Regions from separate parts of the Homo sapiens genome. Here regions 2, 3, 4, 5, 6 and 7 are each linked to region 1. Evidence: promoter capture Hi-C in 16 types of primary human blood cells and fetal thymus (Javierre and others, 2016). All regions are on one chromosome and are shown on one strand. Each heading gives the region's core, a stretch centred on a gene start or on the middle of the fragment in contact. The rest is flanking DNA. Distances are from core to core; before and after follow the strand shown.

Region 1 (3,324 bases), core at 791-3,290:
AGCCTGGGCTTAAACCCAGGGTGCCGACCCAGGGCCCATCCCTTCTGATAGAAAGCCACCAATATGACCTGCATTTCCCAGAGCCAAGGACGCTAAGTTGCCCACGGAGGGGGCTGGCCAGCCCCGGGGGCCCGTGGTCCTAGGCCTCCTAGGGGTGCTTTCTGGAGCTTCGTGGAGCCCAGGGTCACTCAGAAAATTTATTAAAGTGAGACACCTTGCCTATTTCTGATTCCAAATGTTGACCTAGAGTTGGCCAAATTTTAAACACAACCAGTCTTAAGTTCAGAAGAGGTATCTGCACCTGGCAATCCAAAAGGGCAGGCATAACCGTGCCAAAGACGGCGGAATGTGTTCTGAGAAGTCCTCCTCGCTGGTCCGGGGAAAACCTGTTTGGTTTCTTTAATTGGTTGTCTCTGCCTGTTGGATGGCATTTCCCAAATGGTCCCTCCGGAGCCAGTGGTTTAATTAAAGTTCTAATGTATTGTCAAGTTGGGAATTCGGGGCCTTGTTTGACTAAAGCAGGGGGCGTGGGCCATCCTCTAAAGCAAACTGCCCATCCCGGGGGACCTGAGCTCATCCAGGCCTGGGGCTGGCCTCCTTTCTTTCCTTTGCTTTCTTTCTTTTATTGTCCAACACTTGTCAGGCTCCTGGGAAATCAAGGGAAGTCTCGTTTTGAGGTCATAAAATTCTCTGTGATGTAACCGTGCGAAATTATGTAAATAAAGCCGGGCAGGCCTCCTTGAACACACAGAGAACCGGATCCTGCCTGCGCCTCTGCCTGTAATTTGCGTAATGAGAATTGTCCTGAAAAGGCTTCTAGTCTCCTCAGGCCTTGCCCCTGCCGCCCGCACCCTGAGGAGGGGGCATGCCAAGGAAAACATTTGGAAGGTGGGAGGGTCCCTGGTGAATACACAGACTTGGACCCTGGGTTTGGTCCTGTTCCACCTGTCCTCTCTCCCTTCCCTTCCTCCCTTCCTTCCTTCCTTCCTTCCTTCTTTCCTTCTTTCCTTCCTCCCTCCCTCTTTCCCTCTCTCCCTTCCTTCCTTCCTCTTTTTCTCCTCCTCCTCCTCCTTTTCTGTCTTAAGGAGGCAGTGCAGGGAGACCTGGAACAGCAGGACCAGCTCTTCCCAGACCTGTTTGGATCTGAGCCTGAATCTCTAGGAAGGCGCAGTGAGGAGAGGGGGAGAGATTTGGTTCTCATCACTCACTGCTCCTTTATTTTATTATTTTATTATTTTTTATTTATTGAGAGATGGGGTCTTGCTGTGTCACCCAGGGTACAGTGCAGGGGTGCAGTCTCGCTCACTGCAGCCTTCAACTCCTGGGCTTCCCGGAACCTCCCTTCCTGGCCCCCGACTGGCCTCAGTTCTCCTCTTGCCTCTGGGTCAATCCACTGCTACCAAAGCCGGCTCCTGTGGAGAGGAAGCCTCCTGCGATGGGCCCTGTTTAACAGGGACACTCAGACGTCTCCTAGACAAAAAAAAAAAAAAAAATTGGTCTCATTAACTCCAAACTATCCATTTCCACTTGGTGGTCCTGAGTCCGCATTCCTTGGGGAGTGGGCACTGATAGTGAGGGAACAGCCCCGCCCTCTGCAGGGCCAGGCCTTGGCGCTGGGGCCTTGAGTGTAGTGGTACAAGCAGCAACGGGAGGGGCTGGGGCGAGGACCGGAGCCGGCTGTGGGCCTCACTGCCCTTTGGTCCCCAGCCCAGGCGCAGTCGAACCTCCTGGGGAAGTGCCGCCGGCCGCGCACCGCCTTCACCAGCCAGCAGCTGCTGGAGCTGGAGCACCAGTTCAAGCTCAACAAGTACCTGTCGCGGCCCAAGCGCTTCGAGGTGGCCACCTCGCTCATGCTCACCGAGACCCAGGTGCGCGCCCTCCCCGCCCCCGACGCATCCCGGCCTCCCAGGGGACACTGTTACCTTTGCACTTGTGACCCACGGGCGGTCTGAGGCATCTAGCGCTGCGCCTCGACGGTTCAGACGGCGGGCGCACGGGTTCATCTAAGGTGCCCAGAGCGCCGATTCAGTAGCTTCGGGTGGGGCCCAAGAATCAGCACTTAACCACCCCTCCTTTCATTCTGAAGAAGGTGATCCCCAGGCCGCATTCGAGAAATTTTGTTCCAGAAAGAGAGGAGGGAACATCCTGAGATTTACCGCGACGTAGCCAGCTGCCCTGACCCTTCCTCCGCAGACGGAGGGCGCGGGTAGAAAAGTCCCCGGCCTGGGTCGTTGGGGACATAGTCCTAGCTCCCACGGAGCTCCAGCCCAGCTCTGGGGTTTGCTGCTGAGTGGGGGGTTGCGGGGAGGAGGAAGCTACGAGCCCCCTCCCCATTCTGCTTCTAAGTCGTCTCACCCTGAGGCCATTCCAGGGCCGACCCAATGGGGCCCAGGCGCACGCGGCCGGGGGACTCCGGGGACAGGAAGCCCTGGGGTGGCGGTGGCCGGTTTCTCACGCCCGCTTGTGCCCGCAGGTGAAGATTTGGTTCCAGAACCGGCGGATGAAATGGAAACGCAGCAAAAAGGCCAAAGAGCAGGCGGCGCAGGAAGCGGAGAAACAGAAGGGCGGCGGCGGGGGCGCGGGGAAGGGCGGCGCGGAGGAGCCGGGAGCCGAGGAGCTGCTGGGGCCGCCAGCGCCCGGAGACAAGGGCAGCGGACGCCGCCTGCGGGACTTGAGGGACAGTGACCCCGAGGAGGACGAGGACGAGGACGACGAGGACCATTTCCCCTACAGCAACGGCGCCAGCGTCCACGCCGCCTCCTCCGACTGCTCCTCGGAGGACGACTCGCCGCCCCCGCGGCCCAGCCACCAGCCCGCGCCCCAGTAGGAGCCCCGCGGCCCAGCAGGTGCGGCGCGCACGGAGCGCCCCGGCCGGCGGCTTCTCCCGGAGGCCCCGGCGCCCGCACCCACCCGGCCCGGCCCCGAGAGCAGGCTCGACCGCCGCCCCATGGACCCCTCGCCCAGGCCGGGGCTGGAGGGATTCGGCCGCGGCTCCGGTCCTGGGCGCTTCCCTTTTAAGCAAGGGCGCCTCACCTGCTCTTCAAGAAACAGCGAGAGGGAGACCCAGGGGGCTGAAACTTGAACTCTGGTTCTTTTAAAATTAATTTTGGTTGGTGTTGGGGGAGGCGCGAGTGCGTGTGAGAAGAACCGACCCACCCCGCGCAAGGGGAAGCCTCCTGTCTCCCCTTTCCCCGCGTCCGAGAAGGCGGAAACCCACAGTGTTACCTGACTTATGAAACTTGAAACCGCCTCTGGAGCCGCCATTCTGCAGAGTATTTGGAAAAAGAAAAAAGGGTTTATGCTTACGTCTCTGGGGTCGGGGGG
Region 2 (3,352 bases), core at 104-2,603, 1.6 Mb after region 1:
TTTCCTGAAAGACCCCTCTTGACACACCTTAGGGGCTTCAGGGCCACACTGCCTGGCACAGCTGGTTCCCAGTGTGGACCTGTCTCCACTGCCAGCCCCTGCCCCACCCTCTCCACCTGAGTCCTGATCCCTGGTGACCAAGAGAGGCTGTGCTGCTTCTGGCCTTCACAGTAAGCCAGATGGCCTGGGAAGCGAGACTCTCTCTGCCTCCCAGCACTCCAGGCTGCAGTTGCTGTTTCATCATCCATGGGTGTAAAACACCAAGCAAGTGACATGATACAGAATGACCTCCCTGTGCTGGCAGTGGCACCACAGAAACAGGAAGACTCAGAGCCAGAAGCTGCCTGCGCAGATTGCCATTATGGAGCCTGGGAAATCAAGTCCTAGAAAGATTATCTGTTTTTTTTTTTTTTTTTGAGATAGGAGCTTGCTCTGTCGCCCAGGCTGGAGTGCAGTGGTGTGATCACTGCTCACTGCAGCCTCTGCCTTCTGGGCTCAAGCAATCCTCTAGCTTCATCCTCCCAAGTAGCTGGGACTACAGGCATGCGCCGCCATGCTTGGCTAATTTTTTAAACTTCTTGTAGAGACAAGGTCTCACTATGTTGCCCTGGTTGGTCTTGAACTCCTTGGCTCCAGTGATCCGCCTGCCTCCAGTGATCCTCCCACCTCGGCCTCCCAAAGTGCTGGGATTACAGGCATGAGCCACTGTACCTGTCCTAGAAAGATTAAAGGATACCTCTACGTCTACCTCTACCTCTACCTCTACCTCTACCTCTACCTCTACCTCTACCTCTAACCTCTAACCTCTAACCTCTAACCTCTACCTCTACCTCTACCTCTACCTCTCCCCACGGTCTCCTTCCACGGTCTCCCTCTGATGCCGAGCCGAAGCTGGACTGTACTGCTGCGATCTCGGCTCACTGCAACCTCCCTGCCTGATTCTCCTGCCTCAGCCTGCCGAGTGCCTGTGATTGCAGGCACGCGCCGCCACGCCTGACTGGTTTTCGTTTTTTTTTGGTGGAGACGGGGTTTCGCTGTGTTGGCCGGGCTGGTCTCCAGCTCCTAACCGCGAGTGATCCGCCAGCCTCGGCCTTCCGAGGTGCTGGGATTGCAGACGGAGTCTCGTTCACTCAGTGCTCAATGGTGCCCAGGCTGGAGTGCAGCGGCGTGATCTCGGCTCACTACAACCTACACCTCCCAGCCGCCTGCCTTGGCCTCCCAAAGAGCCGAGATTGCAGCCTCTGCCCGGCCGCCACCCCGTCTGGAAAGTGAGGAGCGTCTCTGCCTGGCCGCCCATCGTCTGAGAGGTGGGGAGCACCTCTGCCTGGCAACCACCCCGTCTGAGAAGTGAGGAGCCCCTCCGTCCAGCAGCCACCCCGTCTGGGAAGTGAGGAGCGTCTCCGCCCGGCAGCCACCCCGTCCGGGGGGGAGGTGGGGGGGGTCAGCCCCCCGCCCGGCCAGCCGCCCCGTCCGGGAGGTGAGGGGCTCCTCTGCCCGGCCGCCCCTACTGGGAAGTGAGGAGCCCCTCTGCCCGGCCAGTCGCCCCGTCCAGGAGGGAGGTGGGGGGGTCAGCCCCCCGCCCGGCCAGCCACCCAGTCCGGGAGGGGGGAGGGGGGTCAGCCCCCTGCCCGGCCAGCCGCCCCGTCCGGGAGGGAGGTGGGGGGATCAGCCCCCCGCCTGGCCAGCCGCCCCGTCCGGGAGGTGAGGGGCGCCTCTACCCGGCCGCCCCTACTGGGAAGTGAGGACTCCTCTGCCCGGCCAGCCGCCCCGTCCGGGAGGGAGGTGGGGGGTCAGCCCCCCGCCCGGCCAGCCGCCCCGTCCGGGAGGGAGGTGGGGGGATCAGCCCCCCGCCTGGCCAGCCGCCCCGTCCGGGAGGTGAGGGGCGCCTCTGCCCGGCTGCCCCTACTGGGAAGTGAGGAGCCCCTCTGCCCGGCCAGCCGCCTCGTCCGGGAGGGAGGTGGGGGGTCAGCCCCCCGCCCGGCCAGCCGCCCCGTCCGGGAGGGAGGTGGGGGGATCAGCCCCCCGCCCGGCCAGCCACCCCGTCCGGGAGGTGAGGGGCGCCTCTGCCCGGCCGCCCCTACTGGGAAGTGAGGAGCCCCTCTGCCCGGCCAGCCGCCCCGTCCGGGAGGGAGGTGGGGGGTCAGCCCCCCGCCCGGCCAGCCGCCCCGTCCGGGAGGGAGGTGGGGGGATCAGCCCCCCGCCCGGCCAGCCGCCCCGTCCGGGAGGTGAGGGGCGCCTCTGCCCGGCCGCCCCTACTGGGAAGTGAGGAGCCCCTCTGCCCGGCCAGCCGCCCCGTCCGGGAGGGAGGTGGGGGGGTCAGCCCCCCGCCCGGCCAGCCGCCCCGTCCGGGAGGTGAGGGGCGCCTCTGCCCGGCCGCCCCTACTGGGAAGTGAGGAGCCCCTCTGCCCGGCCAGCCGCCCCGTCCGGGAGGGAGGTGGGGGGGTCAGCCCCCCGCCCGGCCAGCCGCCCCGTCCGGGAGGTGAGGGGCGCCTCTGCCCGGCCGCCCCTACTGGGAAGTGAGGAGCCCCTCTGCCCGGCCAGCCGCCCCGTCCGGGAGGGAGGTGGCGGGGGTCAGCCCCCCGCCCGGCCAGCCGCCCCGTCCGGGAGGTGAGGGGCGCTTCTGCCCGGCCGCCCCTACTGGGAAGTGAGGAGCCCCTCTGCCCGGCCACGACCCCGTCTGGGAGGTGTGCCCAGCGGCTCATTGGGGATGGGCCATGATGACAATGGCGGCTTTGTGGAATAGAAAGGCGGGAAGGGTGGGGAAAAAATTGAGAAATCGGATGGTTGCCGGGTCTGTGTGGATAGAAGTAGACATGGGAGACTTTTCATTTTGTTCTGTACTAAGAAAAATTCTTCTGCCTTGGGATCCTGTTGATCTATGACCTTACCCCCAACCCCATGCTCTCTGAAACATGTGCTGTGTCCACTCAGGGTTAAATGGATTAAGGGCGGTGCAAGATGTGCTTTGTTAAACAGATGCTTGAAGGCAGCATGCTCGTTAAGAGTCATCACCACTCCCTAATCTTAAGTACCCAGGGACACAAACACTGCGGAAGGCCACAGGGTCCTCTGCCTAGGAAAACCAGAGACCTTTGTTCACTTGTTTATCTGCTGACCTTCCCTCCACTATTGTCCTATGACCCTGCCAAATCCCCTTCTGCAAGAAACACCCAAGAATGATCAATAAAAAAAAAAAAAAAAAAAAAAAGAAGAGTTCCAAAAAATTTAACAGCATTTCCAGCAATGATTATTTCTGAAATAAAAAGATATGAAACATAATTTATACAAAACTAAAAAAAAAAAAAAAAAAAAAAAAAAGGATTAAAGGATCAACCATCAGGTCCCTAACCAC
Region 3 (3,396 bases), core at 733-3,232, 1.6 Mb after region 1:
GCCTCCAAGCCATGGCCACCTCAGGGGAGCTCTTTTCCTTTGGTCCTGACTCTTTGTTCATCTGGTACATTCTTTCTCCATATCTTTGGGCACAGACTGTTCCCCAGAGAAGGGTCACATGATCTAAAATGACTCCCTAATCCAGGTGTGTTCCCCACAGCACTTATGGCTACTTGCAGTTGTAAAGGTGTTGGTGCGTTTATTATTGGTCTCTCATCTAGAACATACCTTCCAGAGGGCAGGGCCTCGTCTTCCTGGCTGTACCCCCAGTCCTGCTAAAGGGACTGGCACACAGTAACATGAAGCCAGTGCTCCCAGACTTTTTGGTCACAGGACTGCTTTATGCTCTTAGAAATTTACTGAGCCCCCCAAAGAGCTTTTGTATATAGCAACGGATAGATTTAGATGTCTATCCGGTGATTTGCGCAGTATGATGAAATGGTAATGTTTTAAATATATTGATTAATTGATTCATTTACAATGACAATAAAAACCCACTTCATGTTTACTTAACATATTTTAATGAACACTTATTCTATTCCCCCAAACAAAAAAAAATTAGTCTGGAGAGTGGTGTACATGTTTGCACCCCTCTTTAATATCTGGCTTAATAGAAGATAGTTGGATTCTCATTTTTGTTTGTGCAATCCATTATTTTGGTTCAAGTATATGAAGAAAATGCAACCTGTCACAGATATGCAGTTGAAAACTGGAGGAGTATTTTATTAGCCTTGGCAGATAATTGTGAACATTTTTCCTTGATATTACCCCCAAATTCAACAAATGGTGGTTTCTTAAAGGTTGGTTGCAATGTGGAATCTGAAACCATGTCAATGAACATTTCATACTCTATTACATTAAAATCCATTTATCTGTCTTGCACTTTGAATGGCTCTTTTGCCCACAAAATATTTCCTTCCTTCCTTCCTTCCTCCTCCCTCCCTCCCTCCCTCCCTCCCTCCCTCCCTCCCTCCCTCCTTCCCCTTTTCCTTCCCCTTCCCCTTCCCTTCCCTTCCCTTTCTTTTTGACAGAGTCTCTCTCTGTCACCCAGGCTAGAGTGCAGTGATACAATCTCTGCTCACTGCAACCTTGCTTCCTGGGTTCAAGTGATTCTCCTGCCTCAGCCTCCCCAGAAGCTGGGATTACAGGTGCATGCCACCACACCCAGTTAATTTTTTGTATTTTTAGTAGAGATGGGGTTTCACCATGTTGGCCAGGCTGGTTTCAAACTCCTGACCTCAAGTAACCCACCTGCCTCAGCCTGCAAAATATTTCATGCCACTGTATATTGGTCATTTGGAAAATATTGGTTCACTGAGTTATGCAGGTCTTCCAAATGTCGAACTATTTCCTTAAACAGTATCACAAAATCACATTTGTTAATATCACCACTAATCTTATTGGAAAACTCTTTAAATTTGGGAGGTTGTCTGACTCATGATGTTGGATACAAGTTTTCAAGAATTTTAATTTTCACTTAAAAACTCACATTTTACCTTTAGTGGTAAATACTACTTTCCTCAACACGACAGGGTAGTTTCATTTATTTTTGCAAAGGTGTCTGTCAAAGACCTAAGTCTCAATAACCATGATTTGTCTGTTGGGTGCCGTTCCATGTAAAATGAGGCTCCATGAAAAAGCGGGCTCAGTCAGCTCATGGCTGTAGCCCGCCCGTCCTTTTCCTCGATGGCCGCTGTTCTTCTGTATGACAGCTCCCCCTTTCTTCACCCAGAATATTGAAAAGACATGTGCTCCAGAGCTGAGCTTTAATAAAACTATTTTTTTTTCACTGTTTCTTCAAGAACATTCTTAAGTAAAACCTGCATTTGAAAAAAAAAAAAAAACCTGTGAGTGTGTGGCTGTGAAGAGCACAATGTCTGCTACCAATGGCCAATAACAACCTTTAATGGCCTTCATCCATGTGGAGCTGGACTCACTGGTTTAACGGCCTTCATCCATGTGGAGCTGGACTCACTGGTTTAACGGCCTTCATCCATGTGGAGCTGGGCTCACTGGTTTAACGGCCTTCATCCCTGTGGAGCTGGGCTCACTGGTTCAACGGCCTTCATCCACGTGGAGCTGGGCTCACTGGTTTAACGGCCTTCATCCCTGTGGAGCTGGACTCACTGGTTCAACGGCCTTCATCCATGTGGAGCTGGACTCACTGGTTTAATGGACTTCATCCATGTGGAGCTGGACTCACTGGTTTAACGGCCTTCATCCATGTGGAGTTGGACTCAGTGGTTTAACGGCCTTCATCCATGTGGAGCTAGACTCACTTTTTTTTTTTTTTTTTGCACATCAATGCTGATGTCTACATGCAACAAAGCTACATAATGACTCACAGTGTAACTGTAAAAAAAAGTTTGGAGGTTGTCTTAGGGAACCCCAGGATCTGCACTAAATGAGATTTCATAAATGAATGAATGACTTTTCCTACACAATCACGTATGGTGGATCCTAGATGTCCACAGTTTCTCATCTAAAGCTCTGGGCCACAGACACGTTTCAGAATTTCTTTGATTTTGGACAGGTCAGGTGGTGCACATATCATGTGCCACCTAACCCCGTGGGGTGTGAGCAGGGCCCTATCTAACACAGTCATAGTTCTGTGGTAAATACAGGAAAAGCTGAACCAGCAGGTAACAGCCACAAGGAGCCTATGTCTGTTCAAGTCAGGTTCTGCTGTCCAAGGAGTTAGGAAGACACCCTCCCATTTTGAAAGCATTTGGATTTTGGAGTTGTAGACCAGGGGTTGTGGGCCTATCTCCTGATCTCCACTCCACAAGGGTACCTCGGGGAACAGACGGCCAAGGTCTCCTGGCGGGTGAAGGAGCTGGGAATGGAGCACCCAGGGCCTGTTGAGCTTCCACTCTGTCATCTCCCCTCCCCTCCCCGCCCCGTGACCTCAACCACATGGCCCTCCTAACACGAAGGCTTCCAAGGCCTTTCCTGCCCGGCCCTGGGATTCCTTTCCCCTTCTCCAGCCTTGTGTCCTCCACACACTCTGAACTGTGGCCATGCAGGGCCACTCTGCGTGGTCCTCTGATATTCCAGCATAATCTCTCTGATCATTCTGGACTCTGGGCCTTGTCTCTCTAGGGCTATAGCACCTATTGGTGCCTCTCAGCTTACCTGACCTCCCTGGGATACACTTCTTTTTTAATTTAGTTTTTAATATTTATGGGTACATAGTAGGTGTATATATTTGTGGGGTGTGAGACGTTTTGATTCAGGAACATGTGCAGTAATTACATCATGGAAGATAAGAGTATCTATTCCTTCAAGCATTTACCCTCTGTGTTACCAACAATCCAATTATACCCTTTTAGTTATTCTTAAATGTACAATGAAATTATTATTGACTATAGTCACTCCTTTGTGCTATCAAATAGT
Region 4 (3,362 bases), core at 194-2,693, 1.2 Mb after region 1:
CCTCCCCGGCTCCCTGCCCGCGGGGTCCCCCTAGCGGGGGTCTCCGGAGGCCTCCTCCCAAGTGAGCAGCGCTAATCCATCCCCCGGATCGCGCCGGGAGAGCGGAGCCGCGGCGCGGGAGCCGCTCATTGGCATTCTGAGCACACGGGCGGGGGCGCGGGGCGCAGCGTGTCAAGCCGGGCCGTGCGACTCGACGACTCGGGCTCGCCAGCGCCCGGGGTCGCATTCCGGGGGGCTACGGAGGGCCTCCAACGGCCAGCCCCGCACTTCATGCCAGAGAAACCGATGAGAAGATTAAAAGCCCCCTGTAATTCCAGCAGGAAGATTCTTTCTGGCAATCTCTATTTGCAAAAAGCATGATCCCGGAGATTGGAATGCAAAGAAGACGGCCCTCCCCGCCCTCCTCCCCGGCCCCCTGCGCTCCGCCCCAACTTCAATTATTGTCCTGGGGACAGTGAGCCTCAGAGAGCGACAGAGGGCTCGAGAAAGCGGGTAGTCAAGGGGCCTTGAGACCCGGCGCTTCCAGCGCTCCGAACAGGCCCCGCCATTTAAAATTCAAATACACATCTTGAGTGCTTGGAAGAGAGGCCTGGCTGTGCAAATAGTGCTTGTGAATTGCACACGGGGTGGGGGGGGGTTGCACCTGAGCAAATAGGGAGGGGGAGGCCCGCGAGCTGGGGAGAGAGTGAGCTGAGAACAGGGAGGGGAGAAAATGGAAGTGTCCCCTTCCAAGAGTGTCTCCTGTTTATCCCAGAAATCACAATGACAATGCTGGGCCCTTTATTGGATTTTAATTAGAAAATCCACACAAGCCTCGGATTTTCACACCTCGGCCAATCTCTGGAATGTTTGTCCAGTTGCTACAACTACTGCAGCTATTTTTCACTCCCCGCCCCCGCCCCTCCGCAGGCCCACGCCGAGGCGCGGCAGGGTGCTGCGGGCAGGCGGGCAGGCGGGCAGGCGGGCCAGGGGTTTCCGCCGCGCAGCCCGGGTGCTGAGTGCGCGAGCAGGCGCCGCGCCCCGCGCCGGGGCGGGAGGGAAGGAGGGTGCGCCCGGCGCCCGCGGGAGCTCAAGGAGGCTTCCTGAGGAATCCAAGTGCAGAGCAAACACCCTCTGGATGGATTCGCGGCGAGGCCGGGTGTGTGCGGAGCTGGGGGTGGGGTTGGAGGAAGGCGGAAGGAAAGAGTGTCACCGGCCTCTGCAGGAAACGCCAGCCAACCTCTGTGACCGCCAGCCCAGACTTAGAGAGTCGTTAAGGAATGTGTCGGAATCCTGTCCCTGGGGCAGTGGGGTTGGGGGAGGGAGGTGTGTGCGGGACCCGCCTGGAATCAATCGCCCCGCCCCGCGCCTTGCGCACCCCTGGCCTAGGAGCGCGGGCACCAAGCGTGCGCCCTCCTCCCCGAGACGCGCCTCCCTCTCGGAACTCAATGCCCTGTCCTCTCTTCTTTCCCTTCTCCTCACCCGCAGAGAACTCGGTGGCGGCCAAATCGGGAGGCTGCTTCCCGGGCTCGGCCACGGTGCACCTGGAGCAGGGCGGCACCAAGCTGGTGAAGGACCTGAGCCCCGGGGACCGCGTGCTGGCGGCGGACGACCAGGGCCGGCTGCTCTACAGCGACTTCCTCACTTTCCTGGACCGCGACGACGGCGCCAAGAAGGTCTTCTACGTGATCGAGACGCGGGAGCCGCGCGAGCGCCTGCTGCTCACCGCCGCGCACCTGCTCTTTGTGGCGCCGCACAACGACTCGGCCACCGGGGAGCCCGAGGCGTCCTCGGGCTCGGGGCCGCCTTCCGGGGGCGCACTGGGGCCTCGGGCGCTGTTCGCCAGCCGCGTGCGCCCGGGCCAGCGCGTGTACGTGGTGGCCGAGCGTGACGGGGACCGCCGGCTCCTGCCCGCCGCTGTGCACAGCGTGACCCTAAGCGAGGAGGCCGCGGGCGCCTACGCGCCGCTCACGGCCCAGGGCACCATTCTCATCAACCGGGTGCTGGCCTCGTGCTACGCGGTCATCGAGGAGCACAGCTGGGCGCACCGGGCCTTCGCGCCCTTCCGCCTGGCGCACGCGCTCCTGGCTGCACTGGCGCCCGCGCGCACGGACCGCGGCGGGGACAGCGGCGGCGGGGACCGCGGGGGCGGCGGCGGCAGAGTAGCCCTAACCGCTCCAGGTGCTGCCGACGCTCCGGGTGCGGGGGCCACCGCGGGCATCCACTGGTACTCGCAGCTGCTCTACCAAATAGGCACCTGGCTCCTGGACAGCGAGGCCCTGCACCCGCTGGGCATGGCGGTCAAGTCCAGCTGAAGCCGGGGGGCCGGGGGAGGGGCGCGGGAGGGGGCGGGGCGGGGCAGCAACAGCAACGCAAAGCAAAAAGACACTCGGAAAAGGCGCACGAACCAGACTGAGTTATAATAAGAATAAGAATAATAAAGTAGGACAGTCCAAAGTAGACTCTAAGGAAACAAGGACCCCGGGAAGTTTTGTTGTTGTGCTTAGTTGATATATATTTTTTGAATTTTTTTGGTTATTGTTTTATTTTGGTTATTTTTTCCTCCTCTCCTGGCTATTTATTTGTTTGGTATGAATAGATGTTTTAAATAATATGAACCGGACCTTCAAGAGCCTTAAATAGTTTGTTTCTTGGATAATTTATTATGATCATGTGAACTGTACTCACGGGGGAAAGATTATTTTGTGAGGCCAAGCAACCTGCTCAGAGTCTATTTTTCTACATGTCCCTCGTCCCGGCTGTCAGAAAGCAAACCTCTGTCCCCGCCATCCCTCCCTTCCATCTCCTGCTTCTCAGCAAGTGCAAACTCAAACGTGCTTCATGGGGGTCCACAAATTATATTTTTATACACAGAATTGTAAATTAGATTTTTTGAGAGATCAATACTTAACTGAATTACATTTCATTTTTGAAATAGTGTAAAATATGAAAATATATTATTTTAATTTAACTAGTTTCCGATGTAACAGCCATCTCCTCTGTTGTCTTTATGGTTTCATATTCCCTTTGTATTCACCATTTTGCCACATTCTTGGAAGCCAAGACTGTTACACACACAACATACACACACACTTTTCTTTTTCTTTTCTTTTCTTTTTTTTTTTTTTTTTTTTTTTTGGACAAACTGGAAGAACTGTTATTTTTAACTTCAAAGAATTTATTAGAAAATAATATTTTTTAAAAGCGCACATAGTGACGAGCCCACGAGGATGGAGCCTGCAGTTTGTACAGAGAAAACAAAGGATGTTTTTGCATTAATAAATTGAGAAATAACGCTGTAAATTTACTAAAATGTATTTTTGAATATTTTGTAATAGTTTTATAGAAATAAAATGTGCCATGCACAGAACGCTTAGTATCTA
Region 5 (3,092 bases), core at 191-2,690, 1.5 Mb after region 1:
AAAATCTTGAAAATCCAATGTCCAGTGCTCATTTTTGGTCACATGATAAAATTAGTGACAAGACTGTTTGAAGAAATCCTTCAGACCAACATCCACACTTAAAAGAAATGGACATGTATACATTAAGTTAGTTGTAAGCTCCACTTATTGTATTTTGATGGCAAAGGGGACCATGACCGTTGGATCCTCAGGTGCCAAAATAGTTCACAAAATAAAGTGCTCTGAAGGAAGTGGTCTTCCCAAATACAGATTGATTTCATAGACTTCTAGAAATGTATACCAAATAGAATGGAACAGTCTGTGGTTATTTCCTCATTTAACTAATAATCTGAATGAAAGGATGGGCAACGTGACTCTTCACTCTGTCATAAGTCAAAAGTATAATTTCCCATACAGATTTCTTTTCCATGACTACCAAGCTTATTGCATGATACCACAGAGTCATCTTTCCATAATAAAGACGTCCTAACCCATTTACAGGGAACCTTCCCAGGAGGAAGCAAACTCTTCCTCTCTGCCATTTCCGGACTGGTTTCCTCTCTCCGTCCCCTGACTTTTATCTCAGCTGTGTTTCTTTTTGCCTACCCCTTGTCCCCGGAGTCTCAGCCATGGATAACCCTGCTGCGCGGAGGCGGTTGAGAGAGGCCGCTGTGAGCTTGAGTGTGGACATTTGTCACGTACAGAGATGGCACCCAGAATGCCTGGGGTGGTCCCCGCGCCTTCAGCCCCCCACTTCACCAGGTCCCTCTCCTCTCTGCCCCGAGCCTCCTCCTCCTTCCTGCTTCCTGCTCTGCTTGTCTCTTCCCTCTTGGATTAACCCTTCCCCCCTCTCAGCATTTTCCTTTCTCCTTCCATGTTTTTTTTTAATCCCAGTATTCAAGTACATCTGGGTATTTCCAAAGCAAGCCGGGTGGGGCCAGGGAAGGAGCTGCCCACGGAGACCTAGTGTGGTGAGGACACTGCTTCAGGCCGAAGGGATGGCCCTGGGCTGTGTGCTGGACCCCTTGGCTTCAGTTTCTGTAGAAACCCGGTAAAATCTAGGGTTCGTGGGGCGGTTTCTGAGTTCCTTTGATTACTCCACGATTCCATGAACTCCCAGCGCCCACTCCGACGTGCTGGGGCGGTGGCCATCTCTCGCCCTCCCCTCTCCAGCCTGGGTCTTGTTTCTCCGCCTCAGCCCCGGAGGTCTGTCTGTCCACCTGTTTCCCACCCCGTCTCTCCCTCCCTGTCGGGTTCCTGCACCCTGGTCCCGGGAGCCCCTCTGCCGCCCCGCCCTGGCCCTCCTGCGGTCGCGACACCCGCTGCGGCCGCACCCTTCCTGCGCCTGGTCGCCTGGTAGCTGCGTCTATGTCGCTGATGCTCTTCGCTCTAATGGCCTTTGTTGGATCGTCTCCTTCTTTTCCCCTTTTGTTTCTGTGGGGTTCTCTAGACTGTTTGCTCATTTCAAAAAAAAAAAAAAATCCATCTTCCGCGTTACCCCATTCTCTCCTGCCCTAGCGAGTCCTACAAGCGTGTTTCCTGTAGGCCGAGCCGGATGCCTGAGGCCAACCATGGCAACAGCCAGGGCGCGGGGGGTGGAGCCCGGAGCCGGCCAGGGCAGCTCATCCAAGCCTCGGCTTCCCCTTCTCACGGAGGGAGGGCCGGACGGAGCAGCCCAGGACTCCCAGGGGATGAAAGAACATTCCAGAAACCCAGCCCCTGTGGCAGGCCTTTAGGCAGCCCCGGCTTGCTGGGTGCTGCAGGGGGGCAGAGGGGAGTTTCCGGTTCCTGGAGAAATCGCTCCTTGCTCCTTAGTGACACTTGCTGCTAATATTAATTGTAAGTGTGTGAAGACAGCACCAGCAGAGAAACCAAACAACCTCCTGTAGCAGTCCTGGTGTAGAGGAAGAATTTCAGCCTCGCCCGAGGCCCGGTCTATTCCTGTGAGGACTTCTTCCCTGGTTCTTTTCCTTCTGAAGCCGTAGCCTTCTCGGATTTGCCTGCAAGGGCTACCCTGGAACAGTTGAGGAGCCTCATTGTCCCCCATCCCTGCGGGCACGGGGGCAGGACACTCCCTAGCCCAGGCTCCTGATTAGAAATGTAAAAGAGTTTCTCCTGCGGGAGCAGATGCCCCGCCACTTCCTGAGAGGTCCCTCCTTTTCTCTTAAAGACGCAGGGCACACAGAAGACGCAGCCATGCGTGCAGCTGGGCGGGCCATTCAGCGCCCTGCCCTTCCTGGGCTCTGCAGTGGCCGGGGCGGCCGCGTTCAGCCTCTGCTTCTGGTAGCTTCTGAAGCATGAAGGCCTGGGCAGCGGTGCTCAGGACAGTCCTCCCTGGGCGGGGCGAGGCCGGGAGCTGGGCCCCTGTCCCCCCGGTTCTGCGTCCCCGGTTCCCTCCTGTGATGGGAGGCTGTGACTGAGGGAGCCTCCCCTCGGCGGTGTGAAAGTGACCACGCTCTGCTGTCCTTCCAGGGAAGCTTGATGGTCCCAGCCGGTGCCGCTCCCTGGTGTATGGGATGGGGTGCCTGGATGCTGCCTCTCTCCCACTGCCTGGCAAGGTGGACACAGCCTGGGCCCAAAGAGAACAGACACAGAGCCGCCCGAGGGGCCAGCCTGCCCCACCGGCACTGGGCACAGATCTGTTCCACAGCTCTGGCTTCCATGGCTCTGCGTGTGTCTGTGGTTGCCCTCATGCCCAGTGCAGGTCCTCACCCTTCTGTCCCAGCCTCAAAGTGGCGGCCTCCCTCCCACCTGCCCTTCCACCTGCTGCCAGAGAAGTCTCTAGAAGCAGGCCTGCGATCACATCTCCCTGCACACCACCACTGACTCTCAATGCACCCGAATGAGTCTGGGCCTCCACGTTGTCCCTCCAGCTTTGCCTTTGTGTACCTGGCATCACTGGGCAACAGCATGATTCTGCCCCTCCCCGGGCAGTGCCTACAGTTGCCCCTTCCTGGCCTTACCAGCTCCGGTCCCAATCCACACAAGACTTGTCTACCCATGGAGTCCAGGCCCCTGCTCGTGGGGGCCTACCCTGGAGGGGCAGGACGGGGCGGCATCCCGAGGGTCGGCCTCAAGAGCATCCCCGGGAGGCTGAGACCTGGCTGAAGTGG
Region 6 (3,480 bases), core at 137-2,636, 1.5 Mb after region 1:
TTTTGGAACTCTTTTTTGTTGTTTTCTACTCTTGTTGTGGTTGAGTTTCAAGACATGGAACATCAAAATGCACATTAAAATGTCATCTGCTGACTTTGTTGTCTTGCTGCTTAAGTGCTCACCATGCGTTTAGTAACTTGACTTTTGAGACACCTAAGGGGTTGTGGCAATTTATGGTGATCAATGGACACGTCTCAGTGATACTTTACGGAAGGTGCTGTGCACAAGTCCCGGGGACTTTAAGACAGTTTTGCAGAACGTTTTGCTTAAACCATTTTGCTCGTGTGGGGACTCCAGAGTGGTCTTAGTCAGTGCTGGTGCAAGGAAGGTCTCTCACAGGTTTCCACATAAGGAATCAGGGGCTGTGGTTTCTAGGTTAAAAGCCAAATTAAAACGAATGCCGCTTTCAAATATCTACAGCCAAATGACAGAGGGAGAGTGATGCAACCACCTCTTTTTTTCTAAGGCTTGACAGAGGAGGGAGAATTGTATCCTGAGTTAATTCGAATATTCTAGCCCAAACTAAGTTAAACAAAGGCTTAGGTATGATAGTTAGCCTGATGCCAAATTTCCTTCCAGTGTAATGTTGATTTTTTGTGAATGCTAGTCTCTGGCTTGCTAGAATATGCTTGGCAAAATACGTTGCAATATTTTTCACTTTAGTCAATGCTGTTGAATCAGACAAAGTGATGGGCAGTCCTGTTTTAAAAAATGTATTAAGTTCACACATTGGCCAAAATACCAGGCCTGCTGAAACCTTGAAATAAGGGCTTTAGCCGATTTTTAAAGATTTTATTTTAACTAGAAAGTAAAGGCAATAATCAGGGTTAAAAGTACTACAGAATAAGAATGACAATGAATACGTGTGTTTGTATTTCACAGGTTTTAAATAGGCACATTAGAGTCGAATTTAAATCTTTTAAAATGCCATTAAACATTTTTAGAGTCTTGCTTAATGAACTCAGAAAATGATTTACAAGTCTCTGGTGAATACCACTAGGTAACTTCACAGCTCCCGAAAGTATAACCTGGTAGTTCCTTAACAAAGAAACATACTTCAGTTAGAATTTAAGATTTTCAAATGCAGGGGTGTATTTGAGCACCCTCTTCTCTGAAAGGTCAGGTATTTTTTTTTAAGTGAAGTGAAATGTTGGATGGATCTCTAAACAGCATGAAAAGACACCTCCCGAAGTAACTGTCAAGGGTGTTCTCCACAGTGAAATTGAAGATGCGTTTGTTTTGATTGCTGAGAAGGCTTAATTGTTTTCACACTTTCAAGCCACAAAATGGATTATTATGTTAAATCACAAGGAAACTGGTTTAATCATTTCGGGGAGCTGTGGTCTTCTTTTTTTTTTTTTTTTTTTTTTTTTTTTAGTTTAAAAACCGTTGGACTTTTCAGCTCCTTCGATAGGAGGTCCATTTCTTCCTATGACTTCCAGTCCGATTTAAGGAAGCGAAACATGCAAAGAGATGTTCCTTCCTCAGGCTCCCATGTCTTCCAACACAACTCATCATTTACTTAAGCCCCAGGAAAATGATGCAATTAACATTCTGGGAAGAGGGTTAATCCAATGCAATGATGTATTAAACCAAAAGGGCGAATAAAAATGGACCACCTTGGTTACATGATTTCCTATGTTTAGCTAATAAATTGTTGCAAAGTCCTTCCTAACAAAGTGCCCCGCCAGTGTGCGTCTATCCACATATGTTGTTATTATGTTTCTACAGTGTGAAACTATAATAGAAGAGTATGAAGATGAAATATCCTCACTTATCGCCCAGGAGACACACTATCTAGCTGACAAGCTGTGCAGTGAAAAATCAGGTACTGTGTCTGATGTAACATGTGCTCGCTGCTCGCACACCCTCTCTCTCTCACTCAGCCTTGCAGCGTCTTGTTTGCAGACCGAGCCTCGCTGCCTCTGCGATCCACGGCTCTGACACAGGATCCCCCGTCTCCGCTGAATCAGAAACGACAGCATGTGAGAGAAAACAGATAAACAGAAACCACAGGGCTGTGTGGCCTTCCTCTTTGTACTTTCTTTCCTCTATATATTAAGTGAATTCAAACATTCTTGATTTCCAGTTAAGGAGAAAATTCTTGTTCAGAATTAGAAGACTCCAAAGCACTTTCTTTTTAAAAACTTTGAGAGAGAGGATTTTTCCATCCTGGACCAGGGAAGGAGACCCTCACTTCATGGCTTGAGTATCTGCTACAGCAGCAGAAGGTGCGATTTTTATTTTGTAAGAACTTTCTAAAGTTTTTTTGTTTGTTTGTTTGTTTGTTTGTTTGGGGGGATGCTGGATTTTTTTCCAGGTTCCATTCCTGTATCTACTTCTTAAAAAAAATTTTTTTCTGGCTCAGAGGGTGGAAAATAATAGTTAATTCTTAAGCATATACACACACTCAGAAGCTGGAAAAAATGAGCAGAATTTTATTTATAATATACAAAGTTGAAAGCGATGGTCACTGACTCTCCGCTCTGTTGGCTGTACGTAGACCTTCTAGTCCCCTAACTTGGATGCTTGTTTAATACATTTATAAGAATGGAGTACACAGTTGTGCATTCTTTTGGATATCTTTGGGAAGAAATGAGTGAGTAGATATGAAGACAATGATTTAAAGCCAGTGGGGTACTTTTAAACAATGTGGAAGTTTGAGACAATTAGCATTCAGCAGTTGTTTACAATAAAGTATATAATACACCTACATCCATTATATCAAATGTAGTGCCAAAGTCCTTAAAATAACAGCTACTGAACATTTGTAGATAAATATTCATGTCATCAAAAGTTATTAAACAAGAAGTACACAAATCTCCCATTAACAGAACAGGTAAAGTTTTGTTTTTTTTGTTTTTGGTTTTGTTTTTGTCTTTTTTGCTTATACTCTGAGTAGATAATTGGGTTGTTTCTGTTTAAAATCCAGTTTTAATGAAGCTTGCAAAAGAATACAGTGAGACGACGTAGTCAGGATTATTCAGGCATTTGGGGTATTTTTCTTTGATGTGGGAGATATACTATAGAAATGTGTGATGTCCATGACCACAACTTCCCACAGGAAATGTTTTTAAAGTGTTTCAAACAATTCAGAGATGTATGTAGGCATTCAGATAGAAGCAAAAATGTGATGAACAATATTTGAAATATTAATTTCCCTATTTTTTCCTCATAAAGGACGTGGTCTATGACAAACGCAGATCCACTGCTACATGGGCCCTCTCTCAGATGCTCCAGGAGGACTAGAGAGGGTTCCAGTAACTAGTCCCAGCAGTAGTCACCCCGAATAATAAGATCCTGGGGAAAGACTGCTCCCAAGTTTGTCAATTTGACTTAATTTCAATAATCTTAACTACCTTTCTTCATTCCTTCTGCATATTTATAATTGGAATAAAACTTAACACTAACCTTGAGAAAATGCAAGCTGAAAGAATAAACCTAAGATAGGTGCAATTTTGCAAGTATAAAATGAAACCT
Region 7 (3,463 bases), core at 713-3,212, 1.5 Mb after region 1:
CTCTCCGCTGAAAACAACACGATGTTTGATTTGATGCAAGATTATGTGTCCAGTCATTTTCAGTTTTATGTTCCTGTATTTCCCAGCCTCATAAAAAGTTCTTTAGCTTCCACTTTGAGAAGTTCAGCTCTAGACCTTATGGGTCTGCTCTATGGGAACCAGATTCCCTCGCATGAGAAGTCAGCCAAGCAGTAATACTAGCAGCAACAGTAACGGCTCCGTGCTAATGAGTGCGTGAGTGCTCTCCATGGTCTCAGCACCTTACTGGGCACGTGCAATGCAGAGCACCCAAGGGAACCCTGAGATGGCATGACCTGCAGTGGGCAAGGAGGATCCCCGTTGGCTCCTGCCTCCGTAAGAACGGTCACTGCCTTTGACTGAGCATTTATTCTGTGCCGGGCTTGTTACGTGTCTAAGTTCAACAGTCCTCTGAGGCAGATTAATTCCCCCATCTAGCATAGAGGAAACCAAGGCACAGCAGGTAAGGAGCGGTGGCAGGCTGCGTGGTGTCTCCCTCTGGCCTGCTGGTTCCAGAGCCCTGAGGGTGGCATCAGGCTGCTGCAGAGCCTCAGATCTCCAGGAGAGAGGAGGAGGGAGCCGGGACTTACAGGGAACTGAAACAACCAAAGGATAGCACATACGAGTTCATTATTTGCTATGTCTGCAGTTGGAAAATCACAGCCAGCCCTGGCAGACACTTACTGAGTGCTCACTGTACACCAGGCGGGATCCCAGTGCCCATGGGCACTCTCTCATGTGATTGTCACTGCAGGCTTTCAAGTTAATTCTATTATCTGCAGGTTTCAGATGAGGAAACCAAGGCCCAGAGAGGAAAAGGCACAGCAGGCATGACACCAGTGCCATCGGTGTTTGCTTCACCCTTGCAGATTACGAGGCAAGTTCACATGCATGTCGTCGGTGCTGGGGGACAGCGTCTCCCTGGGGACACACACATGCAGTCTGGCCAGGCCTAAACCAAGTCAGGATTATGTTGCTGGTGATGTAAACCAGCCAAGGTCGCGGAGAGCAATGCCACACAGCAAATAAGAGCTCACACAGCCCCACACACCCTGGCCAGCCCGGATAGCTTCCCTTCCCTGACCTCAGTCCTCTCCCCCGTAAAACGGTGTTAAGACCAGTAGCCACCTGGTGGGGTGCATTATGAGAGTGACTGAAGATAACCCACATACAATGGTGAGTATTGGCTGTCCTGGGTAGAACAGTGTACTCCCACATTAATGTCCTGGGAATATGTGAACGGAACCTTATTTGGAAATAGGGCCATACAGATGTGATCAGAGGAGGTCACACAGAATTAAGGGGGGCCCAAATCTAATGTAACTGGTGTCCTTATAAGCAAAGGGAAATTTGGGTACAGACACAGGGCAGAAGGCCGTGTGACAGCAAAGACAGAGATTGGAGTGAGGGGTTGCCAGCCTTCACAAAAAGCCAGGAAGAGGCGAGAAGGGTCTCCCCTGCAGCCTTCAGAGAGAGCCCAGCTGACACCTTGATTTTGGCCTTCTAGCCTCCAGGACTCGGAGAATAGACTTCTGTCGTGTGAACCTCTCAGTGTGTGCTACTGTTACGGCCGCCCTCAGAAACTCCTACACTGAGACCTAGTAGGAACTCAATCAACATTGGGTGTTATTATTATTTGAGACAGGAAGAGACATTACACCAATGCCTGGGAAATGTGACTTCCAGAACACGAACTGCAACGGAAGTGCTAGAGTGTGCACTAAGCTGGCTACAGCTAAAGGGCAGAACACTGAAGGGATTAGGAGAAACACGAATATGGGAGACACTTCCCTTCTAGGGTCTTTGTCCAGCTTTTCTTCCCGGGAATTTGGAAACTCACCGTTTATCAATTGTGTGCTTACAGTAGTGACAGTGTGTCTGCTTCCCACACAGACAAAAATATGGCAGGGATGGACATTCCCGAGTCCTGGAAACCAGGGACAGTCAGGGGTGGGTGGATTCCTCCCAACCTTCCAAGCTCTCTGTGGGGGAGGGGGATACTGCTGCCAGCTGCCCCTCCCCTCGGGCTGCCAGTTGCCTGGCCTGCCTGGGGGACTGTGTGTGCGCGCATAGCCTCCTGCACCCGCCCCCCCTGCTGAGGCCAGGGAGCCGGAAGGGCACAGACAGGCTTTGGAATGCAGGGCTGTGCAGCACACTTTAGTGGGAGTCAGGTTTTCTGCCTGAGGCAGAGGGAATTCTAACACACGCTAGAGCAGAAAGACAGAAATTGCCTTTTAGACGCGGCTGCCATCAGCAATATTTAGCAGGCAGGCTCTGCAGGGCCGTTTAACCTTCTGTAACCTTACAGTTAAGTGCTGGCTCGCTGGCTGGCTCGCTCTCTCTCTCTCTCTCTCTCTCTCTCTCTCTCTCTCTCACACACACACACACACACACACACATTCCTCTGTGCAGATATATCCGTGGTTCTGCTTAATATTTTACCACAGTGGTTTTATTTCAAGGGGAGCTCTACAGGCTGACATTTCTTCTTCTATGTGTGCCCAATATTTTACATGTACACACACGCAGAAACTTGCATATTCATATCTTCCAGGAATCGACACTTAAAGAGGGAGGAACCTGAGAGCTTCTTGCTCATCAGAGCAATGCCAAATGTACAGTTGGAGCTTGGCAAATAATTAATAGTAATGAAAATTGACATTGCAAAAATTAAAGTGAGAGGGCTGACAGAAAGGAATTGGTTTGGTTGTCAAACCACAAGCCTAAAGGGAAACAGATTGCTTTGGAGAATCTTTTAATTAATTTTTGAGTTTCCCTGTTTCTTCTCTGCTGCGTGAGCAGAGTTCCTTCCTCGGCCATCAGGATGCTCTACAGAAGGGGACAGGTCGGAGAAGGATGGATGGTGTTAGGGATGCTCCCATCTTGGAAGCCTCTGGAATTCCCCAGTCCCCAGTAAGGAGAGCTCAAGGTGGGGGTGACACAGCCCAAAGAGGGGTTCGTTTTGTAAATTTACTTTTATTACCGATGAATAAACCAAGAGGTCTAGCTCATTCATAGCTAAAATAAAAATGGATCTCTACAGTCTGACCAAGTTCAGCCACTGAGCTGCAGCATTAACTTGTATTCTAACAAGATTAAAATATATTTGTCCTGGGGATTAGCATACTTAAGTCCCCTTTTGCCTTTTTAGCGGTGGCAGGGCACTTTGATCTGCCTTGCGTGGCAAGAGCGCGGCTTGGGCCCAGCGATCCGACTGCCGAGTGTGAAATCAGCCTGATGTCATCCCATTCTTCAGCTTTTACATCTTTCCCCAGTTTAATTATATTTCCGCCACAAAGCTCCCGCGTCTCATTGCATATTCAAGTTTGACTAGGAAGCATTTAAAAAACAGTGTGGATGAAATACCCTTGTGGGGGGAAGGGATGGGGTGGGTTGGCTGGGGGGGGCTGCAAATCTTCATGGAGCGAAAGCAGCGAGCCCCAAC

The links. Contacts are between HindIII fragments. The CHiCAGO score rates a contact against its expected background, and 5 or more counts as called.
Region 2: a contact is called between the fragment with the promoter of BLACE here and the fragment with the promoter of MNX1-AS2 in region 1, in 2 of 17 cell types (total B cells and naive B cells). The highest score is 12.3, in total B cells.
Region 3: a contact is called between a fragment that was not itself captured here and the fragment with the promoter of MNX1-AS2 in region 1, in 2 of 17 cell types (naive B cells and total B cells). The highest score is 12.8, in naive B cells.
Region 4: a contact is called between a fragment that was not itself captured here and the fragment with the promoter of MNX1-AS2 in region 1, in 2 of 17 cell types (total B cells and naive B cells). The highest score is 10.9, in total B cells.
Region 5: a fragment that was not itself captured here is called in contact with the fragment with the promoter of MNX1-AS2 in region 1 in 1 of 17 cell types (total B cells); the score reaches 7.0 in total B cells.
Region 6: a contact is called between a fragment that was not itself captured here and the fragment with the promoter of MNX1-AS2 in region 1, in 2 of 17 cell types (total B cells and naive B cells). The highest score is 32.9, in total B cells.
Region 7: a fragment that was not itself captured here is called in contact with the fragment with the promoter of MNX1-AS2 in region 1 in 2 of 17 cell types (naive B cells and total B cells); the score reaches 18.4 in naive B cells.

The regions. Positions count from the first base shown.
Region 1 is chr7:157,005,023-157,008,346 of GRCh38, reverse strand. It overlaps MNX1-AS2 (MNX1 antisense RNA 2), which reads right to left and starts at 2,040. Exons shown (of 2, transcript NR_147077.1): 1 at 1,923-2,040; 2 at 1,227-1,470. MNX1 (motor neuron and pancreas homeobox 1) reads left to right here. Exons shown (of 3, transcript NM_005515.4): 2 at 1,708-1,868; 3 at 2,474-3,324. The coding sequence ends at 2,827. RefSeq lists a silencer at 2,451-2,645 and an enhancer at 2,414-3,066. The HindIII fragment of the contact is 8,591 bases long and covers 1-3,324 here.
Region 2 is chr7:155,365,934-155,369,285 of GRCh38, reverse strand. It overlaps BLACE (B cell acute lymphoblastic leukemia expressed), which reads left to right and starts at 1,353. Exons shown (of 6, transcript NR_103545.1): 1 at 1,353-1,477. All of the region lies in intron 2 of LOC105375593 (a long non-coding RNA gene), which reads right to left. The HindIII fragment of the contact is 7,901 bases long and covers 1-3,352 here.
Region 3 is chr7:155,444,464-155,447,859 of GRCh38, reverse strand. All of the region lies in intron 2 of EN2-DT (EN2 divergent transcript), which reads left to right. Among named protein-coding and RNA genes, the nearest start is that of EN2-DT, 11 kb to the left of the region's middle. The HindIII fragment of the contact is 4,257 bases long and covers 1-3,396 here.
Region 4 is chr7:155,801,832-155,805,193 of GRCh38, reverse strand. It overlaps SHH (sonic hedgehog signaling molecule), which reads left to right. Exons shown (of 3, transcript NM_000193.4): 3 at 1,468-3,362. The coding sequence ends at 2,294. Among named protein-coding and RNA genes, the nearest start is that of SHH, 9.0 kb to the left of the region's middle. RefSeq lists an enhancer at 1-28 and a silencer at 1-114. The HindIII fragment of the contact is 9,246 bases long and covers 1-3,362 here.
Region 5 is chr7:155,489,598-155,492,689 of GRCh38, reverse strand. No RefSeq gene overlaps it. Among named protein-coding and RNA genes, the nearest start is that of EN2, 33 kb to the right of the region's middle. RefSeq lists a silencer at 1,202-1,271 and an enhancer at 2,071-2,804. The HindIII fragment of the contact is 2,037 bases long and covers 422-2,458 here.
Region 6 is chr7:155,505,368-155,508,847 of GRCh38, reverse strand. CNPY1 (canopy FGF signaling regulator 1) reads left to right here. Exons shown (of 5, transcript NM_001393663.1): 4 at 1,732-1,828. Among named protein-coding and RNA genes, the nearest start is that of CNPY1, 39 kb to the left of the region's middle. RefSeq lists an enhancer at 1-20 and a silencer at 1,882-1,931. The HindIII fragment of the contact is 3,118 bases long and covers 1-2,945 here.
Region 7 is chr7:155,471,638-155,475,100 of GRCh38, reverse strand. No RefSeq gene overlaps it. Among named protein-coding and RNA genes, the nearest start is that of EN2, 15 kb to the right of the region's middle. RefSeq lists enhancers at 1,987-3,463, 2,943-3,463. The HindIII fragment of the contact is 7,565 bases long and covers 1-3,463 here.